Linked DNA regions of Homo sapiens: region 1 is linked to region 2. The links are contacts of gene promoters, found by promoter capture Hi-C in blood cells and fetal thymus (Javierre and others, 2016). All regions are on one chromosome and are shown on one strand. Each heading gives the region's core, a stretch centred on a gene start or on the middle of the fragment in contact. The rest is flanking DNA. Distances are from core to core; before and after follow the strand shown. Region 1 holds the start of WFDC13 (WAP four-disulfide core domain 13). Region 2 holds the start of MATN4 (matrilin 4).

Region 1 (2,700 bases), core at 122-2,621, 390 kb before region 2:
GTCATGACTATAACTGTAGTAGCAAATGGCACCAGAATTGGGGTAAAAGAAGCTGAGGTTCAAGCTGTTGACAATTTAACAGAGACCAATAACTAGTACTCACCCCTGGCCTCTCAGCTATTCTATAGCTCACTGGGGCACTGCAAGAAATTGGAACTAATCCACACTTTGAAGAGCTTGGGGCTCAACAGAGCAGTTTAGAGATAGACACCATGATCCAGAGATCTCAGAGAGGTCACCCTTTTCAAGTCTTGACCCCTCTTCTGGGTATCTGGTCCCAACTTCACTCACAGCATTTACCAGTCTTTTAGAAAGCCTCTTTGTGCCTTTCCTCAAATTCTGATTCTCCAATTAACTCTACCCTGGGCACTCCTATTTTCTTGTAGCTTGCTTAGTCCCTCTTAGTCCTACAAACCTGCATGCCTTTTCTGAAACTTCTTAAGCAGGACCTAGCCTCCCCAGACACATGAGCTACCACACTTATCCCTCTTCTGAGCCGCCAGTATTCTGAAGATGTTTTCCCCATAGAAGAGTGGATGTATGATGAATAACAGTTCTTTTCCCACTTGGTATTGGTTAAGGTCAACATTACTAGAGCCAGAGCTCTTTTGAGTTGAGCTGGGCAGTGGTGGCTGCTGAGATGGACTCTACACTGTCCCATTGATGCTAATTACCGGTAATTGTACAGTACCTCTGGAGTTTGAAAATGTGGAATAAAAGGCAAGACTTCCTTTCCCTCCTTCCCAAAACATCCTCCAAGGCCAAGGTTATGTAGATTCTAGCTTGAGTTCTACCAACTTCGTTGTCTCTCTGTTTTATTGCTTGAAAAGTGAGTCCAAGCATCCATGAAGGAGCCACGGGCAGCAAGACTAAGCTGGATGATGAGGCTGATCACATTTACAGCATTTAATATTACTGAGCATTTACCATGGTTTAGTAAGAGTGAGCTATGTCTGCATGCATTATCTGTTCTCCTCCTGTATTCATTATAAGGATAAAAACCTGAGGCCCAGATACTATGCCCAAGGTCACTCAGCAACAGAGCAGGGATTCAAACCTAGATCTTGCCAACAATAAAGCTTGGGCCCTTGAACATGACACGGTATTTTTCCAAGAGGTGTGACAGACTGTCAGCCCTCAGATCCTCTCCTATCCACACATGTTACTTCCCTCCTTGGGCCCAGATCCAGCACCTACTCAGAACACGCTGCTTGGGACTCCCAGGCACCAGCTGCAGTGCTAGGCAGAACACCACCAGGAACTGGAGAGGCAGCACAGGCTTCATGGTGTCAGTGGGATGGGTGAGTAAGTTCTGGCCAAGGGTTGCTGGGTTTGACCAGGCACTGCTGTGAGGAGAAGAGAAGGAAAGAGGGCAAAGTGGAGGCCCAGTGTGACTAGCCTTTCACCGTGTACTCCAATCAAAACCGGCAGGGCAGGAATCCAAGCACCTCCCAATCACACCCACTCCAGGGTCACGTAGTGTTTTCATATCCTCCTTTATTCCCCTAATCTTGACCTTGCTATCTCTTTCATCTGTATCTAGATCTTATTCATGTCCCTTAACATTTTTTTATAATTTTCCCCTGTGGAAATTGTACATGTTATATTTATTCACAGAGGATTGAATTTTTTTTTTTTTTTTTTGAGATGATGGAGTCTGGCTCTGTCACCCAGGCTGGAGTGCAGTGGTGCGATCTCTGCTCACTGCAGCCTCTTCCTCCCAGGTTCAAGCAATTCTTGTGTCTCAGACTCCTGAGTTGCTGGGATTACAGGCGTGTACCACCATGTCCAGCTAATTTTTGTATTTTTAGTAGAGATGGGGTTTCACTGTGTTATCCAGGCTAGTCTTGAACTCCTGACCTCAGGTGATCTGCCCTCCTCAGCCTCTCAAAGTGCTAGGATTACAGGTGTGAGCCACCGCGCCTGGTCTGAGGCTTGAAGTTTTTAAAAGGAAATTGTAAATGTTATCATAACTTTTCAACTAATTCCTTTTGTTTACTGCTAATGTAGAGAAGTTAACTTTCCAGTTTGCTCAAAAATCTCCACCATGACAATTATTTGACCTCACTGAAACCAATAAACATTGACTCTTCACTTCCCTATTTCGTAGTCCTCCCCTATAGGCGTTTACTTTTCTTTCTATCAATGTAGGACTCAGAACCTGTCATTTAAATCTCCTTGCTTGAATCTACCTACAAAAACTGCAACCCTGAATGAATCCAACCATCAATTTCATTGAAGCTTGAACCTAGGCAGATAATTGTTGCTGGGGGAAAATAACTCAACTGGGCTACTAAACAGCACAATAGATGCACCATCACCAAACCAAAAAGGGTCTGGCAATCTTACTAAGTTTCTTCAGTAAGCCAGTGTTCCCACTTTCTACAAATACTATTTCAAACTTGCTTTCCTCTCTTTAAAGCTTGGATCTTTTCTTCTTTCCACAAATTTGTAACTAGTTAGCTTGCTAAATTCTCCCATTGTTTATTATGGTTTCTTTGTGTGTTCTCTTCAGTGTTTATCATAGGCAAATAAGCAGTTATAGTTTTCTTCTTCAAACTTTATGCCATTTTTAATGCCTCACTGTGCTCGCTAGGCCCTTGAGTACATCATATGTAAGTGGTGATAGTGTGTATTTTTGTCTGATACCTGATTTAAAATGAAAACTTCTTGTTTCCCCTTTTAGAATTGTCTCCACTT
Region 2 (2,700 bases), core at 175-2,674:
AGACCTGGGAGGGGCTGCGGAGGCACCTACCGCTTCTCATTTCCGTATGATTTCTGGGCCACCTTGGCATGCAGGATCCGCACAGTCTGTTCACACTGTTGCTGCAGGCACCTGCGCACGCCTCCCCTCAGAATGGTGGTGTGCTCTGGGGATGACCTGGGAGTAGGGCAGGCAGGTCGACCAGCCACAGGAGGGAGAAGGGTCAAGGTGGCACAGGGTCCAAGCACTCAGGTTGAGTAAAATGAAGTGAGCAGGGGGTTAGAGTGAGTGGGAGGGTGGGGCTGCTCTATATCCTGCCCCTGTGGGGTCAGGAAGAGGAAGCATTAGGTAAGGAGGAGACTTGGCTGCAAATTGTAGGCTAAATATTTAGGCTGCAAGGTGCTCAACGAAGCCTGCATGGAACCCATGGGACCACCCAGGTTCCACTCTGTGGGTCTGGCATCATGCCCATTGGAGCCCAGGGCCATAGGGACACGTGGCTGTGACACAAAGGCTGCACTTATACTGGCCTTGGGATGGAGAAGAGTATTTTAGGGCTGATGGAATTGGTAGAGATGAAGCTTCCCCACCCTGGGGAAGGCAGGGTGGGGGGTGAGGAGGGAGGGGAAGGGAGAGCCTTTCCTGGGCTCCTGGCCTGGAGCGCTCTCTAGCCTCCTGCCTGCAAACAGAAAAGGGCCCAAAACCTTGTCCTCAGGATGGGGGATGGCCTGGGGGAATCTGAGCCTTTCTGGGGCCAAAGCCATATTCTTCCCTTTCTCCCATGAGAAGTGGCCTGTTGCTGTGTGGGCTTTCCTACCCTTGATTACAGGAGTCAAGGCAGATGACATTGGTCCTGCAGAGTGAGCCAGGTTAGAGCCTAGAGGTCTGGTGGCTTCTTAACCTGGGGGTCTTGAGCGGTGTGGGTGGGTAGGCCCGAGCAATTGCAGGGAGCAAGTAGAGGAGGGGAGGTGGGAGAGATTTGGGGGGTTAGCAGGTTGAGGCCCAAGGAGAGCCATGAAAACTGAGGCTGTCCTTCTGAGCCCTTATTCCTCTTGGCAGGACCAGAGTCTCTCCTCACTCCTGGAGGGGACAGCGCAAGACCGCACCCTCGAAAGCCAGGCCAGACAGGCAGCAGCCACAGCCAGGACCGCTCCACCCCTTGGGGCTCTCCTCAGGGAAGTGCCTTCTAAGCTTCCAATGAATTCCGGCTGTGGAGTGTGGCTGCCCCGGTCTCCCCAGTCTCCCGCTGTAGCTGAATTCCAGCCTGGCCCGCAGCTAGCCCTGTCTGCAGCTCCAAGCGTGGTAGGAGCAGGGGGTGCTGGGTTTGCCCCCCCTCAGGAGGAAGGGGGGATCCCTCCCTGCCAGTGGGAGGGGTTGCAGCCTGCACTTCCCCTCCCCACCCGCCAGCCCTGGGTTAAATGCGGCCGTTGCCTCTGTGTGCTCCAGCTGCCTGGCAGTCCCCACCTAGGGCACGCTGCCACGCCGCCGTTACCTGGTCCAAGTGCCCGGGAGGCTCCGCCTGTCGGCTTCGCTCTGCAGCTGCATCTCTGATCTGTCCTGCAGGCTCAGGTGAGTCAAAGGATTGGGAGGCACTGAGGGGTCTGCAGGGGAGTAGGCATCAAGCCAGGTCAGGCGAGTGTATTTTAGCAGAGACGCTGCCTAGGGTGCCCTATCTGATTTGCAGTGCCCTTCCCCACTTCTGCAGGGTCCTTTCCAAATCGAGCCCCCACCCTCAAAGCCATCAAAATAGGATCATCCCTTTTCTACTCTCATCCCTCCAGGAACCCCCTGAAATGTCCCTAAGGGACTTTTGAGAATTTATTTACAGGCCTCTCCTCCCTTGCTGCTCCACTCCCTCAACCTCACCTCAGGGCATCTCTGAATCTTTCTTTTTTTAATGCAAGGATTAACTCCTCAGAGGAATCCCAGGTTCTAGTATCAGTCCTGCCACGACATCGCCATGTACCCTTCAGCAAGACACTACCCTCTCTGGACCTAGTTCCTTTCTTTGTAGAATGAGGGGTTTGGAAAGGTGATGAACTTTGAGGCATTTGCTATTTTGACTTTCTAGGATTCCTGGGGTGGAGGCAGGGTGCCAGGTGAGAAGTTGGCTCAGACCAAGAATGGGATGAGGGGAACCTTAACCAAGATTTAGGGGCCCAGAGGCATCTCCGGGTAGGAAAGTATGGGAGGTGGCAGAGGCCCCTTGTGCCTTAGCCCTCATGCTGTCCAGGGATGTTGGCTTTGCCTGTGGCCCAAGCTTGACAAGGGTTCCCCGCCCTCCCACTTCCACCAGCGCTGCCACATCTTGCTTGGTCACCCTCCCACGACGGGCCCTGCCAGAGGATTTATGTTCTTCTACCAGGCCTGGGAGGGGAAAAGGGAGAAGAATCCGGGATGAGAAGGTCGCCTGGAGTGAGAAGCAGGCACTGGCCTCGCTCAGAATAGGCGCATTCACGGAATTGGGGGGCGGGGGCGGAGCTGCTGTTGGGTTAGGGGCAGCTGGCCCTCTCTGCCAAGAAACAGCAACAGAAAAATGGCTAACACAGCTTCAGCATGGGGCGCGGCGGTGGGGTAGGAGCTGGAAGGAAATGAGGTTTAGTGAATTCTAGGCGCCAGGGGGCCTCAAGAGAGAGAAGGGGAACCAGGAGCCCTAGGTTCTAATCCTGCTTTTGCAGTTCGGCGGGCTGCCTCCTTGGGGCTTAGTTTTCCTATTTGTAT

The links. The method cuts DNA at HindIII sites, captures the fragments that hold promoters and counts their contacts. A CHiCAGO score of 5 or more calls a contact.
Region 1: the fragment with the promoter of WFDC13 here is called in contact with the fragment with the promoter of MATN4 in region 2 in 2 of 17 cell types (M1 macrophages and M2 macrophages); the score reaches 6.0 in M1 macrophages.

The regions. Positions count from the first base shown.
Region 1 is chr20:45,700,709-45,703,408 of GRCh38, reverse strand. It overlaps WFDC13 (WAP four-disulfide core domain 13), which reads right to left and starts at 1,371. Exons shown (of 4, transcript NM_172005.2): 1 at 1,198-1,371. The coding sequence starts at 1,285. The region is part of intron 2 of WFDC10B (WAP four-disulfide core domain 10B); the gene reads left to right. The HindIII fragment of the contact is 1,162 bases long and covers 1,082-2,243 here.
Region 2 is chr20:45,307,023-45,309,722 of GRCh38, reverse strand. It overlaps MATN4 (matrilin 4), which reads left to right and starts at 1,424. Exons shown (of 10, transcript NM_001393530.1): 1 at 1,424-1,548. RBPJL (recombination signal binding protein for immunoglobulin kappa J region like) reads right to left here. Exons shown (of 12, transcript NM_014276.4): 2 at 1,472-1,580; 3 at 31-156. The HindIII fragment of the contact is 1,069 bases long and covers 1,173-2,241 here.